Linked DNA regions of Homo sapiens: regions 1, 2, 4 and 5 are each linked to region 3. The links are contacts of gene promoters, found by promoter capture Hi-C in blood cells and fetal thymus (Javierre and others, 2016). All regions are on one chromosome and are shown on one strand. The core of a region is centred on a gene start or on the middle of the fragment in contact, and the rest is flanking DNA. Distances in the headings are between cores, read along the strand shown. Region 1 has its middle 9.4 kb from the start of TRQ-CTG6-1. Region 2 has its middle 12 kb from the start of TRV-AAC1-5. Region 3 holds the start of H3C8 (H3 clustered histone 8). Region 4 has its middle 3.2 kb from the start of TRS-AGA2-4. Region 5 holds the start of LINC01012 (long intergenic non-protein coding RNA 1012).

Region 1 (2,700 bases), core at 56-2,555, 1.5 Mb after region 3:
CCTGCAAGAGGGGCTTGAATAAGATGGATGTTTTGCTTGACTTCTTTGATATCCTGAACTTTCTGTAGCTCTTTATTTTTATTCAGTCTGTTCATTATAAATTTAGCTTGGCATTTCTGTTTGATTTCTTCAATTTGCTTCATTGCATCAATAGTTTTATTCCATAGCTCTCGCTGGTATTTGATAGGTTCATTTCTACGTTTTTCAAATTCAAATGAATTATCCACTGTAAGCTCTTTACCAGCTGCATTCTGGAATGCTTTGATCCACCTAGCTTTGCGAGGACTGCACTTCTTTTAAAAGTTTTTATGACATTTAGATTTACAAAATCTGAACAACTTGCAATTGTTGTGGACGAACATCATGCCGTGACCAGGGTAGATGGGCCCTGAACAGAAATAACACTTCTCAATACACATGTTGAACCCACGTGGGTCCCCACCAAGCAAACACCAAGCTTGAGAGCTCATTTGTTATTTTCAGTGCATGTTTTCTGGTTGTATAAAAGGTTTCCTATGCAAGAGGGCTGATGTTATAACAGTAGATTACTACAGTGTATTTTCAACAGGCAAAGAAAGCTTTTTATGATTTGAATCTTCTAGAAGCATCAGAGAAAGACTGTTCTTGCCATTCACACTACAACAAAACTTTGGGATCTTGAACTTTGAGTTCATAATCTCACAACTGAGAAGGGTCCCTCCAAGCTCTTGGAGCTGTGTGCCCACTGGAACCCTTAAGGTAAAATTAACCAAAGAAATTTCTCCCAAGAGGAGAATGGCATCCTTACTATGAACAGCTTTTCTCACGTTCACAGATTAAGACTTCTACTGTCGTGAAACTTATCTTCGAATATTTTTTGTTGCTTATGCCTCTACAAAAAAATAGAAGTGGAAAAGGTGTCTGTTATGTGCACTTATGGTGTATACTCTTACTTGCGAAGGAGTTTGTAACCAGCTTTTTAAATGGGTAAACTTATACTTTGATAGATAAAAGATGAAGGCCCAATGTAGGTAAGAAACTTTAAAGGTACATGCTTTGCCTCATAATCAAAAACAAAACATTGGTTCACTCCTCTTAACCCACATCATGGGTTAAAGAGAACATTGCCAGAAGGCCTTCACTCTTCTAAAAAGGCATCATTTGTTAGGTCCTTTTTCCATGGTTTAAAGAAAAAGAAGCAATGATTAGAAATATATCCCTCACAATAGGTTCTATAGCAAATTCTACTGTAAAGGCTATAGTTACACAATAGACTCTAAATTACCTTGTGAAAGTTATGATAGAATTGGCTAAACAGAGAAGTATCTGTGCAGCTGCTGGCACTTGTGGCCTATGGAAAAATACGTCAAATGAAGATTACAGAAATTCAGTGGTAGAGGATTGACAAAGAAATTGCTAAGTCAAGTGAGTAAATTCTTTATCTAGCTGATCCTTTGATCTATTTGATTTTAAGAGGTTTGGTTTATGGGGACCTTGGGTAAGGAGCACACTCCAAACTCTTGGTATCATCCTCCCAATAGTCATAATAATAGTCTCCCTGGTGCACTGCATTCCCTCGAAGGTTTTAAATGCTTGCATGTAGCCATCTCCAGAATGTCAAATGGTCTTTCTTCAGCTGGAATAACAAGAGCTGAAGGAAATGTGCAACCATGAGGACCCCTTAACCTATGAATGATGTGCTGAGACCAGAAGCCCAAAATGATGGTAACTGAGAGCAGCACTAAGGCCCTAAGTTTTGGTTACACTCTCACCTGAGAACCTGACCAAAAAGGGGAAATTTTTTTAACAAAATTCTGGAAGGCCATTGTTTCGGACTAGGCTTATGCACTAGGCCCCAACAAACCAAACCAAACCAAAAGGGAGTCACTTCTGCTAAGACTTTAAGGAAACACATAGATTTCTAGAACAAACCAGGTTTTGTTTTTTCTCCTGCAAACCTCTATAACAAACATTTCTGAGAGCATAGGTATCCACCCCCGAAGTTCCCATTAAATCTTTTAACCAAATTCATTTCCTCTTGCTTAGAAATCATCAAGCTTCAGATGATCATGAAACAAAGGTTCCAGCCACCTCCATGTGAAGACACCACCCCTGGCCATCAAGAAGCTACCTTGCCTTCACTAGACAGAACAGGGAGAGAGTTCCATGATCCACAATAGGTAGGGACTACGCCCCAAGGTAGCATGAAGCAGTTACAGAAAAAAGACCATCAGTCCCTCTGCCTCCCATAAAGATTTATGGGGATCACATCTCTCAGGGAGGAAATGAGACAGGAAAATAAGGTCTGGAGGCAGGGAACATAAGGCCAATTCATACTTCAGCTATAAAAGGAAATATCCTCTCCATAGGGCATATGCTGTAAATGACTTTGTAACTTTACCTCATCCTGTCTGTTTATATAGGGCTTCCGAAGTAACAAATAAGAATTCTCTAGGGGTTAAACTCCTGAAAATTCTGTAACGGGGCCTTTGAGCCCCTAGGTTCAGGTCCACTCCCACACTGTGGAGTGTACTTTCATTTTCAATAAAACCCTTAATTCCTTCATTGCTTTGTTTGTGAGTTTTGTCCAATTCTTCGTTTAAGACGCCAGAACCTGCACACCCTCCACCGTTAACAGTTACCTAAAATGGTGTTGGTGGTAAGAGACTTGGGGGAAATGGAGTGCAAGGGATATGGGAGGCCACTTCTCTGAGTTTACCT
Region 2 (2,700 bases), core at 70-2,569, 1.5 Mb after region 3:
CCCAAGGTCTGGGCTTTCAGTACTTATAAAGGAGGCTGACTAGAGTTGGGTCAAGAAGGTCTTTGTCACTTTAGGCAAGTAACTGAGTTTCCTTTAATGGTGGCAATCTCAACATTCCCTTGGAAAATAAATCCACATCTGAAATGTGAGTGAATTTGGATAAATCATATTCAGAAATCAGACACCCATTGACTCGCAGCTGCTCCAGTATGTGAGAGCTGTCAACAAGGACATGTGCAAGTGGTGTTATACCCTCCTCTTAGGCCTAATCTCCCAGTGAGGTTGGGGATGAACAGGGGCCCAGTCATCTGTTTGCAGAAATGAAACCCCAGGGTGCAGTCAGAGAGACTTTTCCTACGCTATTTCGTGGTACTTTGCGCCATTATCATTCCGTGGGTTCGGTCCTCCAGGCCATGCCTGAATATAAGGTTCTCACTTGCCTGGCCCTCATCTGATTAAGGACAGAAGTACAGGGTCCTTCTTTCTGATCCACTCAGGTCTTTAAAGTTCAAGCTAAAAACTCTTTCCCGGAGAATGCCTCCAAGTGCCCCCCAGCATGGGGGCAAAGAGCAGTTTAATGTACAAGGGGTGAGAAAGAGGGTGGGGAGAGGAGAAATTGCCTCCCCAATCTCTCCTTCCCCATGGAGTCCCTTCTGCGTCCTCACTCCTGGCATTGGAGACCAAGGGGACAGAAGCTGAGATAGGGCCCTGGATTGCCTTCCCTAAAAAGATGTCCTTCAAAGCTTTGCCCAGCATATCCTGTTGCCCCTGAGGTATATAACCCAGGGTGGGTTACCTTTCAGGGTCCCTTAGCTGTGGTACAAATGAGGACCATGCAGTGGAGACTCCATCCACCCTGACAGTTTTCTTGAACCTTGGGGGACTGGCTTGCTGTGCATCTTAGGCTTCTGTTGTCTCTTACTGCCTATCTGTGAACAATAAACCTGATTCATATAACTTGTGGCATGTGAATGTATTCTGTCTCATCTGACTGAGGCAAATAGTAAAACTGCAGCCCAGGATGCTGTGGGTGGAAATGTTCTGATTCCTGGTGGTTAGCATAGTAATGATTTTTGCTATTCTTCCCTCAGTGAGAGTTCTCCTTTGGGATTGGTAATTAGTGATCCTGCTTCATAAAATTGGTATAGCAGCACAGTCTGGTCTGACAGAACCATGACTTATGGGCTAAGAGGGAGGGGCAATGTCCTTCAGTACCCAGTCCAGGGAAGAGAGGTCAGTCTGGGGGTGCAGGAGCCAGACATGCTGCAGGATGTTTTATGGGGAAGGAGGAATGATAAGTGGGACATATGTCACCTCCCCACAGATGTGAATGAGCTGGCTGCATGGATTGAGGCAGAGAGAAAGGAATGTGGAAACAGAGGAGTGTGAAACTCTGTCCCCTAGCTTTGGGACACATATGTGATTGCTCATTCCCCAGGATGGAGATCTTGGGAAATGGACACTCAGACGCTAAGACACCCAAGAGGTTATAAGAAAAGTCTCTGAGGCACTTAAGAAGGAATAAATGTGCATGATGCAGCCCGTCTTTACCCAGCAGTGCAAGAATGTTGGGGTAGCTCAGCAAGAAACCATCAAAATGCTCTCCTTCACAGAAAGACAAATTAGTGATCTCAAGGACAGCTATGGGCAAAAACCAAGAGAAGACATGTTTTCTTGGCTATCTCAGGTAGTTGATGAGGAGTGACAGAACATTCTGCTGTCATGAAAAGAATGGCACAGCCTGGGTAGATTGGCTCACAACCCAGTGTTGCAGCAGATGTTCAGGGTGATCCAACAAGCTACAGGTGTAGATCACCACGCCCACAAGCTGGAATCTTTACTTATTTGGTTGGTGTCTAGCATTCTAGGCTCTTTTCCCATCCAGGGTGGTTTGCCTAAGCTTCCATTGTGCCCTTGGCAGTCAGGACATGAGGCTGGCACAGCCTTGTGCAGGGTGGCCCCGGGCTCATGGCTATCCAACCTCCAGAAGGGGGAATTGGATGATACAATACTGTTTAGATGCAATATTGATGACTTCATAGAGCAGGGCCCTTGGCCCTGGCATAATCAATTGATTTTATTTCTTCCCCTTGGAATAGCCTTTGGCAAGGCCATCGAAAAGCTGTATCGTACTCTGCTAGCCTGGCAGCAGAATGGGGGTCAAATTTGACAAATTTAATCTGACAATTAAATACAAAAGGCTAACTTGGGAGGGGGCAATCCAAGGGCTGGTAGTGGGGCAGCCTCCAAGTGCCCCCACTCCACAGACTGTGGATCTGACTGACGCAGCAGGGGGTTCCTAAATAAGAGATTGATGGCCTCCCCCCATCTGATACATGCTATCAGAACCAATCAGAGGGAGGCCCTTGCAGTTCACAGAATCAACAGGTGCCAACCATGCAGGAGGAGTACTGGGAAAGGGAAGTCTATAGACAAGTGGAAACATTGGCACCCCCTTTAGCCTCTCTGGGAGAGTCATCTTCCCTGGCCCTAACACAAGTTCTCTGTACCCACACCTTTTTAAACTGAAACAGGTGTGGAACCAAGGTCTCCACTGGCCTCAGCCTGGCCCTCTGACCCTGCCCTGAGACTGGAGGCATTATGTACCTGTTAGAGTGGACATGGAGGCAGATTTTAATTTACATGGAACTGCTAGACACTGAGGCCCAAGCCACTGTAGTTCCTGGCCCTGAAGAATGG
Region 3 (2,700 bases), core at 141-2,640:
ACCCCAGGTAAAGATTTTTCTAAAGCCTTCCCATGTGACTGTAATGTTACATTGAGAAAACTGATCTGTAAAGAAATCAAACTATTTTAGGGGATTGTTCTGTGCACTTGCTTTAGAGAACATTTCATAGAATATTTCATTCTGTAACATAAATAAACATGCATTTTGCAAAAGCTCACTCCTTGTAAGAGTTCACAGGCAGGATGCCTTTACTGATGAGACCAAAACCAACAACCTAGGCTTCCTAAATCAGTGTTCATGAGAATCATCTGAGGTATATGCAGATTGACTCCAGCCCTAGATGGGGATTGAAACAAGCTCCCATGTAATGCCCTGGGAGCTTCTAACAAGTTCCCACGTAATGCCCATGCTGCCAGTAATGTAGAGGCCAATCTGGCTTTCGTTTCTGCCGCCAATTTCTAATATTGAATTAAAAAATGGATCATTTCACAGAAAAACCAAGAACTGTTTAAAAAAAGGGGGAATTGTGGAAATAGCTGCTTCAGACACGAAAAAGCAGCAACCAAGGATATCCCTACCTACTCTCAACTGCCAATGCTCATACCTGTAAAGTTTTAAAAGGGATTAACCAGAAATACACAACGAAAAAAAATCCCATCTATAATGGGTGTAAGTAGACAACGCGACTAACGCTTGAGACAATGTATATAAACGCCCCCAGGTGGCCCCTTCCACTACCAAATCGAAGCTCCAAACCCCTAAAAGCCAGTTTAGAAAAGGACGCTGACAATCTGGCACTTTCGGGAAAAAGCACGGGAACAAATATAGCAAGCTTACCATTAACTTTAGCCAATCAAATGAGGACTTAAGTACTAAAACCAATGTTTAGTTTCAAAGATTTGATTAGTTAATCACAGCTATTTTCGGGTGAAAGTAGGCGGCTCTTAAAAGAGCCTTTTTAAGTTGGATAGAATTACTGCCCGGAAACCTCTACGCTCTCTCCCCACGAATGCGGCGAGCGAGCTGAATGTCCTTGGGCATGATAGTCACTCGCTTAGCATGGATGGCACACAGGTTGGTATCCTCAAAGAGCCCCACCAAGTAGGCCTCGCAGGCCTCCTGCAGGGCCATCACCGCGGAACTCTGAAAGCGCAGATCTGTCTTGAAGTCCTGAGCGATTTCTCGCACCAGGCGTTGGAAAGGCAACTTGCGGATCAGCAGCTCAGTCGACTTCTGATAGCGGCGAATCTCGCGCAGAGCCACGGTGCCGGGACGGTAGCGATGAGGTTTCTTCACGCCGCCGGTGGCCGGCGCGCTTTTCCGAGCCGCCTTAGTGGCCAGCTGCTTGCGCGGCGCTTTGCCACCGGTGGACTTGCGTGCAGTCTGCTTGGTGCGGGCCATCTCAGACTACCTGAAAGAAAAACTCAGCCACTTGGCAGAGTGGAAACTGCCCTTATATATACTCAGAAACATTCTAATTGGCCTTGTTGATTTTCAAAAGACCCGCGCAACAAAACCATTGGCTGAAGAGTCCAACGATGTGATTGGTGAATTACTGGAAAATCTGATTGGATGAATCACTTCATTTTTGAATCCTCTCTTCTCGGTTAGTCTGCGATCCAAGAACGTTAACTTCTTAAAGTTCTAATTCTGCGCTTCTCAAGCTGTAGTCCGTAAACGACTACTTTAAGACTTGGAAGACGCTAATTCTCATTCAGTAGATGTGTTGTGGGGCCAGATTCGGAGGACCACGTTTTGAGAAGTTTATCTTGTGCCGTTTTCTTGAGTCACCTGGACTGCTGCTAGCTGGAAACCTTTGACCATTATAAGGCAGGATTCCTGGGTGATGTACCTGGGAAATCACGAGCCAAGAAGTCACCGACATACAACAGTGAGCAACAAATGTTAACTGAATTCTATTTTGTCCCAAATGGTGTTTTGCTTCGGTTGAGAATTTTTAAGGCACAGGCTAATTTTAGGTTTTCCAACGACTCTTATCATTTACTTTTCGTTGGGTCCTATTGATGATATTCCAGGATACCACCCCCACTAGCCTCTTCTGCAGGATAACTTGAACACTGCAGTGGCCCTGTCCATCTAAACTTTACAAGGTTTTGTAAACGTTACTGAACTTGCTTCTTCCCGACTACATTAAAGCACTTACTTGAGATATTAAACATTTTCTCATTAGTCCTGTTTGCCTAGTCAGTCACTTGTATAGACAGGGCAACAGCACGGCCTGAATATTGGGCAGGACACCGCCCTGCGCGATAGTAACTTTGCCCAACAGCTTGTTGAGCTTCTCGTCGTGGATGGCGAGCTGCAGGCGTCGGGGGGTGACGCGGGTCTTCTTGTCTCGGGCCGCGTTGCCCGCCAACTCCAGGATCTTGGCGGTCAGGTACTCCAGCACCGCCTCCAGGTACACCGGCGCACCGGCCCGGACCCGCTTGGCGTAGTTGCCCTTGCGGAGGAGGCGGTGCACTCGGCCCACAGAAAACTGGAGACCAGCCCTGGAAGAGTGCGTTTTAGCCTTGGCGCGAGCTTTGCTGCCCTGCATTCCACATCCAGACGCAGTGAAGTATTTAAATACTTGTTTAGAAGAAGGAAAGTGATTGATTCTAGTAAAACGCAAGAGCTAAACTCTTATAATCTATATTCGGCAAAGTAGACTGTGCTATCTCCTGAACACAGATTTCAGCCAATCGAAAAGCAGGTGTTTAAAAAAATTTAAAAAAAAAA
Region 4 (2,700 bases), core at 126-2,625, 1.2 Mb after region 3:
GTTCTAATATTCCCCACTTTACCTCTTTCTTCCTTTCTTGATAACCTGCCCCACAGTCTTTATAACGCTGAAGCTTGAAGTGCATCCCAGTGGTTCTGCTTCTTTTATTGAATCTTGACTGCTACATATCAATGACTCAACTAAATGATCAAAAACTTGAATAAACATTTTATAAAAGAAGATATCCATGTAACTAATAACCAATTATTTTTCATGGACCTGTTGCAATTGTTGACTCTCACAATGTTAATTATGAATAAAATTAGGTGCAGTAAAGTGTATAGTCAAGAAAAGGATCATGGAGGAAGAGGATCAGTAAACACAACTCAAAGGAAAGGATGATATCCCACCAGGATTAAAGTGAAATTGGTCATTTTAAGACCAGTGCCAAAAGGACTCCTGTTTCTTCCCCATGGTAAAGTAATAGAAACCAGACTTACCCTACCACCTTAAACAACTGGAAAACTGTACAAAGTATATATAACAATTTTCTTCAGATAGACAATAGGCAGTGACTAATTTTGATACCTGGGAAAAGGGAAAAAATGAGAAAGAAATTGCCCTATTTACTGCCTATAATCAGATTAAGAGGAACATTTAATAATGATAAAGAGGTCAATGCACCAAGAAGCCGCCACAACAACCCTACATGTATGCACCTACAAATAGTGCTTCAAAATATGTGTAGCAAAACCTACTAAACTGCAAGGAGAAATAGAAAAATTACTCAAATATAGTTGGAAATTATATTTTTTATTATTTATTTATTTATTTATTTATTTTTTGAGACAGTCTTGCTCTGTACCCTGGCTGGAGCACAGTGGTGCCATCTCGGCTCACTGCAACCTCCGCCTCCCGGGTTCAAGTGATTCTCCTGCCTCAGCCTCCTGAGTAGCTGGGATTACAGGTGCCCACCACCACACCCAGCTAATTTTTGTATTTTTAGTAGAGACGGGATTTCACTATGTTGGTCAGGCTGGTCTCAAATTCCTGACCTCAGGTGATCCACCCCCCTTGGCCTCCCAAAGTGCTGGGATTACAGGCGTGAGCCACTGAGCCAGGCTAATAGTTGGAAATTTTAACACTTCTTTCTCAGTAATTGATAGAACAAGTAGTCTGAAAATTCAGTACGAATACAGAAGATTTGAACCACATTACCACAAATTTGACCTCATTAACATTTATATAACGCTTTTCTCAGCAATAACAGAAAACTTTCTTTTCAAGCGCTCATAGAATACTTACCAAGACAGACCTTATTTTGGACTAAAAAATAAGTCACAGTAAGCTTAAAAGGACTGAAATTACAGAAAGTATATTTTGTGACCACAACAGAATTAAACCAGAAATCAATTAACAGAAATTAAACAAAATAATCTAAAACCAAATAATATATCACAAGGGAAATTTAAATTATTTTGAACTAAATAAAAATGGTAACAAAATATAACAAAATGCAGCTAAAGCTTTTCATAGGAAAAAAGCTTTTATAGAAAAAAGAAAAAAAGCTTATTATGAAAAAAGTGGTCAGGTGCTGTGGCTCATGCTTGTAATCCCAGCACTTTGAGGGGCTGAGGCAGGAGGAGTGCTTGAGCCCAGGGATTTGAGACCAGCCTGGGCAGCATGGTGAGACCCCATCTCTACCAGAAGAACAGGAAAACAGGAAAGAAAGAAAGAAAGAGAGAGAGAGAGAGAAAGAAAGAAAGAAAGAGAAAGAAAGAGAAAGAAGGAAAGGAAGGAAGGAAGGGAAGGAAGGAGAGAGAAGGAAGGAAGGAAAGAAAGGAAGAAAAGAAAAGAGAAGGAGGGAAGGAGGGATGGAAAGAAGGGAGGGAGGGAGAGAGAGAGAAAGAAAGGTCGGAGGGAGGGAAGGAAGGGAGGGAGAGAGAGAAAGAAAGGTCAGAGGGAGGGAAGGAAGGGAGGGAGGGAGAGAGAGAGAGAAAGAGAGAGAGAAAGGGAGAGAGGAAGGAAGGAAGAGAGGGAGGGAGGGACAAGCCAGGTTGGTGGCTGGCGGGTGACTGCAGTCCCAGCTACTCAGGAGGCTGAGGTGGGAAGAATGCTTGAGCTGGAGAAGTGGAGGCTGCAGCAAGCAGAAATCGTGCCACTACACCCCAGCTGCTCCCCAGCCTGGGTGACAGAGCCAGACCCTTAAAAAAAAAAAAAGTGTCAATCAATCATCTATAGTTTCACCTTAACAAACGAGAAAAATAAGAGTAAATTAAATTCAAAGTAAGTGGAAGAGAACAAATATTAAAGAGCAAAAGAGAATGAAATAGAAAAACAATAGAGAAGATCAATGAAATCTAAAAACCAGTGCTTTGAAAAGATGAATAATATTGATAAATCTCCAGTCGGACTGCTCAGAAAATAAATGTAGCAGGAAAGAAACAGGGGACATTTACCTAGATTATACAAAAAATAAAAGAATATTTTGGATAATATGCCAATTAATTTGACAAATTAGATGAAATATATCAATTTCTCAAAAGGTAGAAACTACTAAAACCCACTCAAGAAATAATCTGAATTGTAATATAACTGTTAAAAATATAATTTATAATTAAAAACCTCTCTAAAAGAAAAATCCAGGCCTAGATGGCTTCATTGGTGGAGTCTACCAAACCTTTAAAGAGGAAATAATATCATGTGTACATAAACTTTTCCAGAAACTGGAAAAGTAGAGAACACTTTCCTACTCATTTT
Region 5 (2,700 bases), core at 144-2,643, 1.4 Mb after region 3:
CGCGCCCGGCCGAGTTAGTAATTCTTGAAGGTGTGTCAGGTACATTGGATGCACTGTACTATTCTGTCTACCTTTGTATATATACTTTAAAGGTTTTTCCCCACAATTTCTCTGGGAAACCTGAACCTTTCTTCCCCGTGTGTTTAGAAGGGAAGGTGAGGAGAGTCAAAGGCACATGGAGCATTAACAGTTGGAATAAACGACAGAGACACGGAAACCTCCGAGGTTTCCAGAGCGGACCCGGAAATGACGCCAGGGGATGCAAACCCTTCTGCCCCTTTTTGCTACCCCTGAAGCTTACTGTTAGTGGTCGAGTTTTTCTGGAAGTGGGCTTCCGCGATCGCGGGGACCAACGCCCTGAGCTCTTGTGCCCAAAGGGGATCGCCAGGTTTTTTGATGCGGATCGAAAGGGACTGGCCCCGGAGCCTACAACCTGACGCAGGTGGGACTTGGGGAAATGTCGAGAAACCTAGGTCTGGGACTTGAGTTGGCTTCCAGGGCACACATTCTTGTTCAGAAGAAACACATTGCAAAAATCGGGAGGTGACGGGCAGATGAAGTGTCGGCGCTTCGCCTCGGGACTCCAGTGCAACCTATGGGGCTTTTGGAAATGAGGAAGTCGATGACTCTGCAGGGACTCCTCTGACCCAGGAGCAGATGGCGCTCGTCTGGGCACTCCCCAGGAGAAAAGGTGCATCGGGAAGCAGCCTGGCTTGTGGATGGTAATAAGTCACTGTTGATGGGTTGGGTGCAGGGAGGGATTTAAGTTCTTGAGCGACAGATGCTAGGGAGTTTACCTGCTCTGGATAACAGTATCTTGTGGAGGATAGTCACCTGGAAAACAGAAATGGCGTGACTGTGTTGAATACACTGTTTGATGATTCTGGGCATCAGGTGAATAGGAAATGTGTAACGTTATGGATGAGTGTGTGCTCATCGGACAGTAGCAGTGCATCTTAACAGTCGGCCTCTCAGTCCTCCTCTTCCTTAGAATCACCTATAGAGCTTTAAAATTTCCTGGATAATGTTAATGTGCAGCCAGCGATGATGACCATTGGGCTACAGTCAAATCCAAGAGGCGCATCTCATCCTTTGTTCTGATGGACAGAAACCATTATTCTGACATCGTGCCTGTTGGAGACATTGTACCTTAACTAGCATTTAATTCATGTGTGCTGGATTCGCTGAATGAAACTTACCAGCAGGGTACTGAATCTTGAATAATACAAGGAACGAGTAGAATAAGATAGTTCTCATTTTATCCTTATCTAATCTAAGAAATCTAGCAATATTTCTCTGTTTAAGTTTTTTTTCTTCAACAAAAAACAAAATACATGTAAGAGGATTTTCTGACACTGCTGGGGGCTCATAGAATTCTAGTGTCTAGTGTCTTTTCTGTCAGTTAATGTTACAAAGTTCAGTGGTGCTCCTTTTTTGAGATGGTGTCTAGCTCTGTCACTCAGGCTGGAGTGAAGTGGTGCCAACTTGGCTCACTGCATCCTCTGCTTCCCGGGTTCAAGCGATTCTCCTGCCTCAGCCTCCCAAGTAGTTAGGATTTCAGGTGTGTGCCACAACGCCCAGCTACTTAGTAGAGCCGAGGTTTCCCCATGTTGGCCAGGCTGGTCTCGAACTCCTGACCTCAAGTGATCCACACATCTCGGCTTCCCATAGTGCTGGGATTACAGTTGTGATGATCTTAAAACCTCTAACGATTTGGAAATATTCCTCCAGTGATCTTTGTTCTGTCGCAGTGATTGTAATAACATTTATTGAGGAGTTGTATGCCCAGTACTATTAAATAGGTTTACAAATTTTGTTATTTAATCCTCACAACTCTGTTAGAGAGATTGGATATTTTTATATCCATTTAACCACAGTAAAGCTGAGGCTTAGAGGATTTAACCTGGTAATAAGTCCAACATCCCACAACTAGTAAGTGACAGAACCAAGGATTTTCATTCATGTCTGTATAACATAAAAGCCTGTGTTTTATACTTTTTTTTTTTTTTTTTTTTTTTGAGATGAAGTCTCGCTCTTGTCTCCCAATCTGGAGTACAATGGCGCGATCTTGGCTCACCGTAACCTCTGCCTCCCAGGTTCAAGCGATTCTCCTGCCTCAGCCTCCTGAGTAACTGGGATTACAGGTGTGTACCACCACGCCCAGCTAATTTTTTGTATTTTAAGTAGAGACGGGGTTTCACCATGTTGGCCATACTGGTCTCGAACTCTTGACCTCAGGTGATCCATCCACCTCGGCCTTCCAAAGTGCTGGGATTACAGGTGTGAGCTACCGCGCCCAGCCATGTGTTTTTTACTTTTTAGTCAATGGGGCACTTCAGATTACAAGATCTGTGACCCCCCCACAACCATTCCATGAACTATTGGTTCAGCATATAAGAGGACCCGTTTTCTGCCATTTCCTGCATGATGCCTCTAGCAAGCATTGCAATCACAAAGACCTGGGTTTTTAAAATTATTACAAAGAAAAGGAAAGCTTCAGTAGTATGTTGATTAAAGGAATGTCTAGAAAAGGGGAATGGGATATGAGAACCAGGTTACACCAAATTGACAGTTTATGAAAAAATAGTAACCAAGAATATGATACTAATTTTGACTAATTGGTTTTGAATAGACATGGCTTTATTCATTTAAGACAAGCATCTCCATATTTGTGGAGTTTATTCTAGAGGAAAATACAGT

What was found. Contacts are between HindIII fragments. The CHiCAGO score rates a contact against its expected background, and 5 or more counts as called.
Region 1: a fragment that was not itself captured here is called in contact with the fragment with the promoter of H3C8 in region 3 in 1 of 17 cell types (M0 macrophages); the score reaches 6.4 in M0 macrophages.
Region 2: a fragment that was not itself captured here is called in contact with the fragment with the promoter of H3C8 in region 3 in 1 of 17 cell types (non-activated CD4 T cells); the score reaches 5.4 in non-activated CD4 T cells.
Region 4: a contact is called between a fragment that was not itself captured here and the fragment with the promoter of H3C8 in region 3, in 1 of 17 cell types (naive B cells). The highest score is 5.1, in naive B cells.
Region 5: a contact is called between a fragment that was not itself captured here and the fragment with the promoter of H3C8 in region 3, in 1 of 17 cell types (non-activated CD4 T cells). The highest score is 5.1, in non-activated CD4 T cells.

What each region holds. Positions count from the first base shown.
Region 1 is chr6:27,780,693-27,783,392 of GRCh38, forward strand. It overlaps the pseudogene RSL24D1P1. Among named protein-coding and RNA genes, the nearest start is that of TRQ-CTG6-1, 9.4 kb to the right of the region's middle. The HindIII fragment of the contact is 1,458 bases long and covers 577-2,034 here.
Region 2 is chr6:27,764,206-27,766,905 of GRCh38, forward strand. No RefSeq gene overlaps it. Among named protein-coding and RNA genes, the nearest start is that of TRV-AAC1-5, 12 kb to the left of the region's middle. The HindIII fragment of the contact is 1,157 bases long and covers 742-1,898 here.
Region 3 is chr6:26,270,023-26,272,722 of GRCh38, forward strand. H3C8 (H3 clustered histone 8) reads right to left here and starts at 1,391. Exons shown (of 1, transcript NM_003534.3): 1 at 896-1,391. The coding sequence starts at 1,362. The coding sequence ends at 952. It also overlaps the pseudogene H2AC10P. RefSeq lists enhancers at 293-432, 2,160-2,499. The HindIII fragment of the contact is 12,049 bases long and covers 792-2,700 here.
Region 4 is chr6:27,498,490-27,501,189 of GRCh38, forward strand. No RefSeq gene overlaps it. Among named protein-coding and RNA genes, the nearest start is that of TRS-AGA2-4, 3.2 kb to the right of the region's middle. The HindIII fragment of the contact is 178 bases long and covers 1,287-1,464 here.
Region 5 is chr6:27,693,785-27,696,484 of GRCh38, forward strand. It overlaps LINC01012 (long intergenic non-protein coding RNA 1012), which reads left to right and starts at 251. Exons shown (of 4, transcript NR_038294.1): 1 at 251-722. The HindIII fragment of the contact is 2,198 bases long and covers 295-2,492 here.